Regions from separate parts of the Homo sapiens genome. Here regions 1 and 3 are each linked to region 2. The links are contacts of gene promoters, found by promoter capture Hi-C in blood cells and fetal thymus (Javierre and others, 2016). All regions are on one chromosome and are shown on one strand. Each heading gives the region's core, a stretch centred on a gene start or on the middle of the fragment in contact. The rest is flanking DNA. Distances are from core to core; before and after follow the strand shown. Region 1 holds the start of NTAN1 (N-terminal asparagine amidase). Region 2 holds the start of ERCC4 (ERCC excision repair 4, endonuclease catalytic subunit). Region 3 overlaps SNX29 (sorting nexin 29).

The links. The method cuts DNA at HindIII sites, captures the fragments that hold promoters and counts their contacts. A CHiCAGO score of 5 or more calls a contact.
Region 1: the fragment with the promoter of NTAN1 here is called in contact with the fragment with the promoter of ERCC4 in region 2 in 1 of 17 cell types (fetal thymus); the score reaches 6.5 in fetal thymus.
Region 3: a fragment that was not itself captured here is called in contact with the fragment with the promoter of ERCC4 in region 2 in 1 of 17 cell types (naive CD8 T cells); the score reaches 8.9 in naive CD8 T cells.

What each region holds. Positions count from the first base shown.
Region 1 is chr16:15,053,711-15,057,548 of GRCh38, reverse strand. NTAN1 (N-terminal asparagine amidase) reads left to right here and starts at 1,475. Exons shown (of 10, transcript NM_173474.4): 1 at 1,475-1,658. The coding sequence starts at 1,578. It also overlaps a transcript of PDXDC1 not described here. RefSeq lists a silencer at 1,920-2,104. The HindIII fragment of the contact is 4,402 bases long and covers 1,125-3,838 here.
Region 2 is chr16:13,918,190-13,922,456 of GRCh38, reverse strand. ERCC4 (ERCC excision repair 4, endonuclease catalytic subunit) reads right to left here and starts at 2,303. Exons shown (of 11, transcript NM_005236.3): 1 at 2,085-2,303; 2 at 246-426. The coding sequence starts at 2,291. The region is part of intron 1 of LOC105371093 (a long non-coding RNA gene); the gene reads left to right. LOC124903647 (a long non-coding RNA gene) reads left to right here and starts at 2,379. Exons shown (of 2, transcript XR_007065001.1): 1 at 2,379-2,778; 2 at 2,874-2,992. It also overlaps the pseudogene RPS26P52. RefSeq lists enhancers at 1,850-2,059, 2,100-2,459, 2,670-2,719. The HindIII fragment of the contact is 6,939 bases long and covers 1-4,267 here.
Region 3 is chr16:12,076,352-12,080,678 of GRCh38, reverse strand. It overlaps SNX29 (sorting nexin 29), which reads right to left. Exons shown (of 21, transcript NM_032167.5): 11 at 1,764-1,846. Among named protein-coding and RNA genes, the nearest start is that of SNX29, 100 kb to the right of the region's middle. The HindIII fragment of the contact is 4,146 bases long and covers 1-3,782 here.

The DNA of each region.
Region 1 (3,838 bases), core at 226-2,725, 1.1 Mb before region 2:
AGTTGTTTACAGTACAGTCTAGGAGCATCTTATAGTGATGGAGAGCACTGCCTTTGGAATCATGCAAAGCTAGGTTCAGTCTTCGTTCTACTACTTATTTCTACCACTTTGAGCAAGTTACTGTATCTGTTATAACGGAGGTGTTGATAGTAGCTCCTACATTTGTGAGGACAAATGACAAATGAGGTGTTGATAGTAGCTCCTACATTTGTAAGGACAAATGAGAAATGTAGGTGTAATAATACAGAGAAATAATTTCCTGGTAGCTAGAAATAGAGTTATTTTGGGTGAGAAGTTGGGTAACCTGGCGATGGGAACACCATCTTCTACAGTCATTTCTTTAGTAAATTTCCTGGTATTTTTGTTGAACGGGGTGTGTAAGCTGAGGGGGAGATTTATGAAAGAAGACGATGAATACAGATGATAAAATTCTAATAAAGTTTCTGCTGTATCATGTGGCTCCTCTGTATCTTTTGTAAAATTACTTTTTGTTAATGTGCTGCAGAGTTGGATGAATTTGAGCAATATTTCCAAGTTTTAGAAGAGAGCTCCACGGTGAGACGCCTCTCACCTTGGGGACCTGTCCTCAGATTAGGGGCTCTGCAGTCAGTATCCGCAAATCCTTCCCCCACGGTTCCCAGCCCACCTGTGAGTGGCCTATTGCATTCCAATCACGACGTGTTAATCGATGATCTCTTTAGTACGTGGGGCTAGCACAGTTCAGGATCTATTTTCTCAGTTTAAGACCGTTTACATTTATTTTTATTATTTTCAGAAACAGAGTGTCCCTCTGCAGTGCCCAAACATAGCTCATTGCAGCCTCCCACTCCTGGGGTCAAGAGATCCTCCCGCCTCAGCCTACAGAGTGGCTGGGATCACAGGTGCATGCCACCGTGCCCAGTTAATTTTTAAATTTTTGGCAGAGACGAGGGTATGGGGGAGGGTGGGTCTCACTATGTTGCCCAGGCTGGTCTCGAACTCCTGGCCTCAAGCGATCCTCCTGCCTCGGCCCCCCAAAGTGCTGGGATTACAGGCGTGAGCCACCGTGCCCGCCTGATTAGGTTTATTATTACTCATTGAATGCAATCCTACGGAGCTGCACAGCAGGGTCCCAAACTCAAGCTTGTGGAAGGTCACACACCTGGGAAGCGTGGAGCAATGACCTAAAGCGCAGCAGTCGGAGCCAGAACCCGCCCCAGGAACTCGCCCGGAGGCTCTCTTGGCTGGTGCAGCTGCTCCCTGGCAGCTCTCCTTTCCCCGCTCCTTCACTCCCACGCTTTTGGGACTACACTTCCCAGCGCCCCTTGCGGAGGAGGCGGGCCGCGCGCTGCTTCCAGGGCCACTTCCTGGCTTTGGACTACATTTCCCGTGAGGCCTTGCGGCCATGTCCTGGATTTCTCCAGTCTCTTCGGCCGGCACCGCCTCCGCCTGGACTCCACTTCCCGGCAGCGCCCGCGGTGGGGCGGGGCAGGACGAGGCGGGACGCGCGGCCCGAGGGGCGGGGGCGGCGGGCGGCCCGGGGCTGCAAAGCGGGGGGCCGCCGCCTCCCTGGGCCTGCCTGGGCGGCCGCCTCCGCGATGCCGCTGCTCGTCGAGGGGCGGCGAGTGCGGCTGCCGCAGTCAGCCGGGGACCTCGTCCGAGCCCACCCGCCTTTGGAGGTGAGTGGGGCGCGGCGCGGGGCTTCGGGGCGGGCCCGAGGGGAAGCTGCAGGGCGGGCTAGCGCCCCCCTCACGCGACACAGACTTGAAACTTGGCGCTGTTGGCACATCCGGAGCCCCGGCCGTCGGCTCGCGTCTTCCCCTTGAGGGGTCGGGGAGTTTTTGCCTTCTTTAGACTTCAGCGGGCTGCCCCGGAGGCCACTCTCTGACAAGGGAGGGGACGGGGGCCCAGAGAGGTTAGGTGACTTGCCCAAGGTCGCACAGCACTGCGGCTCGGGGACACGCCGGGACCCCCATTCCCCGACGGGGCGGCTGCAGCCCCCATAGGGCTGGGTCCGTTTAGGCAAATCCGGCCGCCCGCCTTCGGGGACCCGCAGCCTGCGGTGAACGTTGCTTCGTCCTTGCGTCCCCGTGAAGCAGGAGGTTATTCCAGGGTGGGCTTCGGAGAGCGTTTGGCCTGGGGGATCTTGGCGGGGACCCCCAGTCCTTCCTCCTCTCTCTCCCCTACCCCCGGGGCGTAGGGCGCCGAGTTATTTTTAGCCGGGAGAGAGAGCCCTGCTTTCCGCAGCTGGGCCATAGGACCACGCCCTGATGCACGGGTTTTGTTTTTGTTTTTTCTGCTTTTGTGCTCAAATAGATCTCTGAACTCTTGTCCACGCTTATGCAGGGACTGTTGGCAAGGGGGTTCTCAGGTTTTAAAAAGAGCGGGGCGTGGCGGCGGGGGCAGACGTCCTATTTGCCATAGATCCTGTTAAAGGGGAATCAATCAGTTCCTTGATTTGAGAGTCAAATATCGAGCCCCTAATATCTGTTGGGCAACGTACTGATCACTGTCCCTGCCCTCGGAGTGTTTATAGTCTAGAAGGGAGAATGGTTTCTGATGAAGAAGGCTCAGATACTATAAACTGTTAAGTACCATAAAGAAAAAGCGTCCCCTTTCACTCTGAGATGGGAAGCACAGGAACCTGACCAAGTGTGTTGGGTTGGGGAAGGCATTTAGAGGTTTCATCTGTCACAGCTGTACAGTTTGTGATTATTTTGTTTGCTTGTTTGTTCTCTATTGGTCTGTCGCCAGAATGTAAGCCTCCTGAAGGCAGATAAGAGTAGTGTCCTCACTTTTGTATCCTCAGAGTGTAGGACGGTCCCTGGCATAGAATTGGCGCTCAGTAAAGATTTGCTGCATAAATGAGGTCACAAAATGACCCCTGAACGTGTTCTGAAGGGTGACAAGGACTTACTGACGGGGAGAAGGCAGACAGCTCTGTGTGATTCTCAGCTTGCATTTCAGGACCGACCATCGTCTGTTAGCCAACATGCACCGAGCTAGGCGTGGTGGCGTGTCACTTTATCCTTGCGTTGTGTTACTGTCCTGTTAGCTAGCGAAGTCAAGAGTAGGACTCACCAAGGAAAAATAATTTCAGCCGCCTGAAGAATTTAGGGGATGCTCTACTTTTATGTCTGTTTGAAAATGTCCGTGATAGAAAGTTAGATGGGTGTCCCGGGCTGCACACTTAAGTGTGGAGGGAGATTTGGTGACATACCGGGGCTGCTTCTCTCGAAGGAAGGTTTTGGCCTATTTAAGAAGACATGTCCTAGAAAGGCTGTGTACTGGGGACCAGTTTGTGTTACAGGAACTTTGGAAGGGGGCGATCACTTTGATTTGCGGCAGTGTAAGTGAAGAAGGATGCAGGCACGAGAGAGATTTGAAAAGGAGAAGAAGGGTGAGGGCATCGCAGCTGGGCAAGCCGCCTGGGGCGCGGCGGGCAGGAGGGGAAGGGCCCAGTGGGTGGGTGTCCTGGCCAGTTTCTCCGGAGCAGCCCGGGTGAGGAGGGGAAGCATGGAAAGTAACCTTACAGGGGTGGATTGTACCCAGATGACCAAATGACCAAGGGGCTTAGATGGACCTTTCACCTACTTAGCAACAGGGAGACATTAAAGGTTGGGTTTTTTGTTTGTTTGTTTGGTTGGTTGGTTTTTTTGAGACTTAGTTTTGTTCTGTGGCCCAGGCTGGATTGCTGTGGCACAATCTCGGCTCACTGCAACCTCTGTCTCCCAAGGTTCAAGCGATTCTCCTGCCTCAGCCTCCCAAGTAGCTGGGATTACAGGTGCATGCCACCACACCCAGCTAATTTTTTTATTTTTAGTAGAGACGGGTTTTCACCATGTTGGCCAGGCTGTTC
Region 2 (4,267 bases), core at 1,054-3,553:
TGAGTTGTGCAATTCACAACAAAGTAGTCAGGAATCGATCTTGTGAAGCCTGCAAGGACCGAACACCCCCACCCAGATTTAGACCTGTGGGTGCTGCCCCACGACCCCTACCAAAGGTGATGTAGGGAGCTGAGTCCTTCAAGACTGAAGACAGACTATTCTCTGGAGAAAAATAAAATGGAAATTGTACTTAAAAAAAAAAAAGTACAAATTTACATACTAATAATAAGATTTCAAATTCTTACCAGTAATTAAATCTGAAGGTATTCTATCAGTCAAGAAGTCAACCACAAGTATCCTACTTGTCGCAAATATAACACCACCTTGTGTGTAAACTTCATAGCGACTGTTGCTTGTGATTTCATTTGTTACACGGCGAGGGAGGTGTTCAACTCCTTCTATCTTCAGCTGATTGATAAAATACTCCTAAATCAAATCAAACTTGATTAGTAGGCTATTTAATACAGGGCAGTTTTTAATAGGTCACAGATATTTAAAATAATGTGCTGTCTTTCTCTGAGATAATGAACTTAATAATGAATATACACACTAAGTTACTTCTTTATAGTAACTTCAGCCAACCAGTCTACATTTAATGAGGTTTTCTTGTTTTGGGGTTTACACTAAGGAATAATTGCACTTCAGTCATTATCAGCACTCAACTACAATAACATATGCACACACATACAAAACCTCAAACTTTTAAAAGCCTGGATTAAAAGATTTCTGCTACCTAGAAAATACTTCCCACCAAAGCCAGGTTTGTAGCCAAGCACATTCTATGAGATGATAACAAGGGAATCCTTTCCCCAGACAATGTTTTAGACTATCAGTTCTGTGCTAATCTATCCTAGAGGGACTTCATGTCACTGGGTCCCTTGGCTTGGTTTATTTATATCCCCAGTTTAAAACCATCTTTACTAGGCCCTGTGTGTTGCCTTAGGCCCTATGCCAAGCACTGGGGATACCTAGATGAATCAAACAGGATCCCTGCCCTCAAAGAGACTGTGGTCACTCTTCTCAGCTGACATTTTTCTCCCGGCCACCTGATATATCTAGGGGATCATCAGACTTGTCCGACCAAGCTGTGTCCCCTCTCAACACCCCTCAGACCCATGTGTAGCCCCATTCCATCTTTCTCAGTGTTCTCCATTGTCCTTAACTGTAGTTAACCTTTGCCAACATCCTCAGCGTCAAGCTCCAATCCCTTTCTGACCCTATGGCCCTCTTAACACAGCCTTGGTGAATGTCCTATTTCCTGGTCCCTCCTTTTCCCTATTGGGGTTTTTCCAGCGCCTCAGCATCTCCTTTCATGTCTCCCCATCACCCTCAGAGATCTTCCATCCTCATCACTGTTCCCTTTCAGGGACCTTCCTTCTGCCCCCAGAAACTCCCTTAATGGCCAACTTCAGGACTCTCCCGTTATTCCTATCCAGATCCTCCTTCCGACATCTCCCCCTCCCCTGCAGCGACCTCCGATCCTCTCCTACCACTCAGAGCCCCTTCACCTTTCAGTGCCCTTGCACCCATGTCAGGGACCTGCATCCTTCTGGGGACCCCTCCCATCCCTCTTAGTGTTGTCAGGGAATTGCATCCTTCTCGGGACCCCTTCCATCATTCTCACTGTGCCTGCACAGTGTCAGGGACCCGCATCCCCTGGGGACCCCTCCCATTTCTCTTAGTGTTCTTGAACTCTGGTCAAAGACTTGCATCCTTCTTGGGACCCCTCCCTTCCCTCTCAGAGTCCCCGCACAGTGTCAGGGACTGGCATTCCTCTTAGTGTTCTTCAACTCCTGCCAGGGACCTGCAGCCTTCTCGGGGCCCCTCCAATTCTTATCAGTGTCCCCGCACGGTGTGAGCGACCGGTATCCTCCTAGCGACCCCTTACATACGTCTGTGTTCCCGCAGTGTGAGGGACCTGCATCCCCCTGGGGACCCCTGCCATCCTTCTCTGTGTCATCGCGTAGTGTCAGGGGCCTGAATCCCCCTCAGAGCCCCTCCATCCCTGTCAGAGGCCTCGCATCCGCTCAGGAGGCCCTCAACACTCTCGGAGTCCCCTCACTCCCGCGCCAGCGCGGCCGCACCTCCTCGGCCGGCTGCGTGTTGAGCACCAGCACCAGGCAGGCTGGGTGGCAGTGCAGCTGGAGAAAGTGGTAGAGGAGCCGGTCCGCGCCGAGCCCGCGGGCGCACACTACTAGCCCGTCAGTGTCGAGCAGTTCCAGCACCAGCTGTCGCTCGTACTCCAGCAGCGGCGCCATGGCAATCCGTCGAGCCGGCTGCCCTGACTCCATGGAAGCTCTTCCGGGTCGCAGCCGAACGCAGCCGAAGGAAGCCGACTCCTAGTGGAGAGTAGGCCGAACTCAACCGAAGAGAGCCGAGTCCGAGAGGACGGCAGCCAGCCGAACGTAGCCGAGGAGAGCTGAGACTGAGATGATCGTGGGCCGAACGCAGCCGAAGAGGAGCCGAGGCCACGACAGGCGCGCTCTCAGAAAGCCGAAGAGAGCCGAGCCTGAGAAGGCAAGCGTTGGCCGAACTCAGCCGAAGAAGAGCCGAGTGGAGCCGAAGATTCATGGAGTCACCTGTAGGGGCTGGCGCCCCCTGTCGGTGTAGCTTGCAGATATCAGGCTCCATTCACGTCTCTTTTGAGTTTCCACATCCCCTGGCACCCTAGCCTCAAGCTGCCAAAAAGCAAGGGAAGGGGAAGTAAGCCTAAGGAGCTTAATCCCCCGACATCGACAGTTGAAAAAGTTACTGGTCAATATTCCAAATGCGCCAAGAGTTAGTAGCACCTGTTTCCTAGGGTGGTTTTTGGCCCTTCCTTTTGCGATTACTCCCCATCCTTCTTTTAATTTTTTTTTTCTTTCCCGAGACAGGATGTTGATATGTTGCCCAGGCTGGAGTGCAGTGGCTGTGGAATAAGCAGAATCATTTACTGACTTCAGACCTCTGTTTGCCTCCCAAAGACTTCAATACAATAAACTATTTTTAAAAATCCCTCCTTCCACTAGAGGGACACCTCCCGCAGTGTTTGTTCTATACCTAGAAATGCCTGATAGTTGAACTAGTAGAGGAATTGTTTTGTATAGAAACCCCCCACCTTTGTTATTAGAAAATAGAAAATACAAGTAAACAAAAATGAAAATCACTTGTTTCCATTACTTGGAAATAACCACTGTTAACATCACGAAATCTATTTTATTTAGTCCTTTTTTTTCTATCTATATACACATTCTCTCATCACACGGAGTTCTTTTACCGACACGAGATAATTAATATCCCTGATTTAAATCCCCAGCTTTGTCATTAACATTTGGCAAACCTCTGAACATGATGTTTCATATTCTTTTACAAAGTCCTTTTATATGGCTGATGAGATTTCCATTATGTGGGTGTACTTACCTAATTGCTTATTAGAGGACATTTAGTCTGTTTCTGCTTTTTCCCTTCCAGTAATATAAATAATATTTCACTAAACATCTTTGTATGTAAATTCAGCCGTGGCCTTCAGATACACGTCTAGAAATGAATAATCACTGGGATAAAGAGAAAAAAATTTGTAAGGCTTTTCATTCCATTCACATTGCCACATTGCCCTCTAGAAAGCCTATACCAATTCACATTCACACTAGCCGTTTCCAAGAGGATCTGTTCCTCTACCTCTTTACTGCTTAATCTGGTATTTTGCTTACATTTTGTCAAGATGAAAATAGCATATAATTCCTGAATGCTGTTTAAGTGGAAAGGGTTGCCGGCAGACACTTTACATACAGCGTTTCCTCTGAGGCAGATATTAATCTCGTCAGTTCTGCCAGTGAGAAAAATGGAGGTGCAGGGAGGTTATATAACTTGGGCAAGGCCACGGGAGCTAGTTAGTGTATTTCTTAGATCTATTTCAGGACGTGATATGGGGGTACTCAACACATATTTAGGAAATGAAGATTGAAATGACAAAGCTGAAATTCAAACCTGACTCCCAAGCGGTGGTAGGCAGAATATCGGCTTCCCAAAGATGTTCATATCCTAATCCCTGGAGCCTGTAGGTTGTTTTATGTGGCAAAGGGGGGTTTGCAGATGTGAGTATGTTAAGGTTCTTGAGATGGGGGGATTATATGGATTATCCAGGTGGGCTCAATGTATCACAAATGTGCTTATAAGAGAAAGAGAGAGGTAGGAGGGTCAGATTCAGAGATGTGACAGGAGGCCGAGTTCAGAGTGATGTGGAACGGGCACTGAACCAAGGAATGCAGCCCTTACAAGCTGAAAAAGG
Region 3 (4,327 bases), core at 460-2,959, 1.8 Mb after region 2:
GCCGGGCACGGTGGCTCATGCCTGTCATCCCAGCGCTTTGGAAGGCTGAGGCGGGTGGATCGCTTGATCCTAGGAGTTCAAGACCAGCCTGGACAGCATGGTGAGACCTCAACTCTACAAAAAAATAAATAAATAAAAATGAATAATAAAGTAAACTATAGGGTAAGTAACAGTACTGTGGTAAACAAAAGATTGACAGGTGAAAAGCAGCCAGCTACATACTCACCCACCCTGTGTCCCATGGACTGAGTGATCTATTAACACCTGCTCAGCGGAGTTCAGGGCTGAGCAGCGCCACAGTAAACCACACATGCTCACATACAAAAAGTGCGGCCAGCCGTTCCCACGCAGCAGCCTTACGGTGTCTGCTCACTTCCTGCTTCACCCTTGAATCAAAGAATGCTGGGTGCCTCCCAAACTCTTTCTTCCTTCCTTAGCAACAAAAACTAATTTCCTTTTTATCAAGAACAATTGCCCCCTCTGCAGCCAAGGGGGACCATGACATGAATGCTGGCCCAAGACACGAGTGGTATACTGTAAGCACCTTCTAGTGAAGGTCGGGGGAGCTTCAACGTTTTTGTACCAAGAGCCCATTTTGTAATCTAGGAATAACCATGGGCTCCTATTCAGGAAAATGTATTAAAATATATAAAACATACCATATCACAAAGGAAACCAATTACATCAAAATAGAATGATCATGATTGAAGAAAATACTATATTTCACCCAGAGCTAAATGAAAAACATTGTAATTTTTTTCCCTATCCAAGCTCAGGCCCCTGAATCCTATATGTAGAAATAGACGAAGTCTCTCTGCTCTCTCCTCCTTCCTGCCGCCTGGAATGAGAATGAAATGGCTGGAGCTAAAATGGCTATTTTGGTCTACAAGGCAAGACAGGAGGAGTCCCGGTCTCTGATGGCCGTGGAGCCACATACCAGCCCCAGCCCATCTACCTCTGGATAGAGAGAAATTTCCATCACATCTCCTTAACCACCGGAACTTCAAGAAGAGTAGGTCTGAATGGCTTTGTGTACAAAAAATAAACCAACTGTTGGTTTACATAGTGTCTGCTCACTTCCTGCTTCACCCTTGAATCAGAAAATGCTAGGTGCCTCCCAAACGCCTTCTTCCTTCCTTAGCAACAAAAGCTAATTTTTTTTTTTAATTGGGAACAAGTGCCCCCTCTGCCTCCAGGGGAGGCCATGGGACAAATGCTGGCTCAAGCCACCAGTGAGATACCAGGAGCACCCGTCAGTTTACATAACAGTTGGTTTATTCTTTGTTATACAAAGCCATTCAAACCTAGTCTTCCTTGCTATATCTCTAATACTTTTTCTAGGTAGTAAAGTTGGAAACAGTTGAAGCCTGATCATTAGCAAAGTTTAATCATCTTGGAGAGACATATTCTTCTTCACTTACAAAAATGAGTCCTTCAGAGTTACAAAGGAAATCCAACTAGAATAGGTCCTCTGTAGCTAACTGCATTATGGGAGGCAAACCCCAAAACCTGGAACCACAGAAGTCTACGGCAAGGCTGCTCCATCCTGAGGCACGCCCTTTAGCGCGCACACGCCCAAGCGCCACGCATTAACCACGGTTCTGGATATCCACAAGCACGTACCACACCTCCAGTCTACAACCAGGGACGTACACACCTGACGTGAACCCACAGTCACAGGGTTAGAAGCACAAAGGCACCGCCATGAGACGTGGGCCAGAAGTCATCCCAGAGCTGGTGGAGGGGGCTGCGAAAGTACTTACTAATTGTCATGGACTCTGGCACTGAGGCAGAAGGTAACAGGCTGCTCAGAGGACTTCCGTGGCCTGGAGAGCTGGCTTCCACACTAGGAAAAAGCAGGCAGGAGGAAGTTACACTCGGCCACTGAAAGTACACACCCTCACCATTCCAAAAACTAGCAGAGGTCGGTTTACTCCGGTACCTCTACTAGAAGGGATAGAGGCAGTCATTGGAAATTAGTCAGGCCTCGTTATCTGCAGATTCCGTATTTGGAAATTCATCTACGCACTAAAATTTATTTGTAACCCCAAAGTCAATACTTGAGGTGCTTTCACAATCATTCATGAACACGTGCAGAGGCCAATAATTTCACTCCCTAATGTGCATAATCTCAGCTGAAGTCGAACAGCTGGGACCTCAGATCTCACACCGTAAACAAGCATCCTCTTTGCTGTCTATTTACTGCCATGTTTTTAGCATTTTTTTTTCCACTTTTCTTTCTTTTGCGTGATCTCGGCTCACTGTAACCTCCACCTCCTGGGTTCAAGCGATTCTTGTGCCTCAGCCTCCCAAGTAGCTGGGATTACAGGCCCGCACCACCACACCCGACTAATTCTTGTATTTTTACTAGAAATGGGGTTTCGCCAAGTTGGCCAGACTGGTCTCAAAGTCCTGACCTCAAGTGATCCACCTGCCTCAGCCTCCCAAAGTGCTGGGATTACAGGCATGACCCACCACACCCGGCCTTTTTTTCCACTTGATTTTATTGTTTAAAATGTCCCCAAGCACAGTGCTGAAGTGGTACTGCCGACAGTTCCTAAGCACAGGAAGGCTGTGATGTGCCGTATGGAGATAATTTGTGAGTTAGAGATGCTTCATTCAGGCATGGCTTACAGTGCTGCTGGCTGTGAATTCAATGTTAATGAATCAACTGCATACATTAAACAAGGTGTCTTTAAACAGGAACAGACATAAAACCAGGTTATGTGTTGATCAGTTGATAAAAATGCTGTGACCAGGCCAGGTGTGGTGGCTCATGCCTGTAATCGCAATACTTTGGGAGGCCGAGGCGGGTGGATCACATGAGGTCAGGAGTTCGAGACCAGCCTGGCGAACATGGCAAAACCCCTTCTCTACTAAAAATACAAAAATTATCTGGGTGTGGTAGCACATGCCTGTAATCCCAGCTACTTGGGAGGCTGAGGCAGGAGAATCACTTCAACCCAGGAAACAGAGGTTGCAGTGAGCCAAGATCACGCCACTGCACTCCAGCCCCGGGCAAAAGAGCAACAGTTCATCTCAAAAACAAAATGTGTGACCAGAGCCTCAAAGCAACTTAACCATGTACTTCCCCTAGGAGCACTGGTTCAGTCTTCATAGCAACTTTATAGAATACAACTACTGGGAATAATAAGAATCAACTGTATGTTTACAAATAATTTACAACATGAAAAATAAAGTTTAGTGTCTTTGGTGAGAACAGCACGGTCATCACATGGTTAACAGAGATACACACACACACACACACACACACACACACACACACACACACCATGACTAGGAGGAAAAGTACCAAAACATCAACAACATAATGAAGTTGAGGGTTAAGACTGATTTTCTTTTTTCATTTACTGTTGCATTTTCCAATTTTTTTTTTTTTAAGACAGGTTCTCACTCCGTTAACTAGGCTGGAGTGCAGTGGTGCAATCTCAGCTCGCTGAAGGCTTGAACTCCTGGGTTCAAGTGATCTTCCCACATCAGTCTCCCAAGTAGCTGACACTACAGGCATGCACCACCACATCTGGATAATTTTTGTTGTTGTTTTATTTGTAAAGACAGGGTCTCACTTGCCCAGACTGGTGGTGTTGAACTCCCGGCCTCAAGTAATCCTCCCACCTTGGCCTCCCAAAGTGCTGAGATTACAGGCATGGGCCACCATGCCTAGTCACATTTTCTAAAATAAATAGCAAAAAAAGACTCCACCCCCTGGAAGGGTCTGGCAACACCAATTCCTTCTGACACTGAACTAACTGCGACAAGCTTCCTACAAGCAATGTCATTTTGAGAGAGCAGAACCCTTGACTGTTCCAGGTAAGACCATGGCATCTAATATGGTTTACGGTAGTCAGGAAGTTCCACTCTAGAGCTAGGTTTGAAAATAAGGATGTAATAGCACCCTGGGACCCCAAATTACAGCCAAGAGGAGAGACAGAAGAAGAAAACGGTAATAGCAGCAAGGATGGCAGTGGCATAAGACTTTGGTGTCCATTTCAGTTCTGCCACCAAGCATCCAGGGTCTCGCTTTGTCACCCAGGCTACATAAAAATGTTATGACCAGGCTGGGCGTGGTGGCTCACGCCTGGAATCCCAGCACTTTGGGAGGCCAAGGCAGGCGGATCACATGAGGTCAGGAGGTCGAGACCAGCCTAGCCAACATGGCGAAACTCCGTCTCTACTGAAAAATACAAAAATTAGCCGGGCATGGTGGTGGACATGTGTAATCCCAGGTACTTGGGAGGCTGAGGCAGGAGAATCACTTGAACCCAGGAGGCGGATGTTGCAGTGAGCCAAGATGGTGCCACTGCAC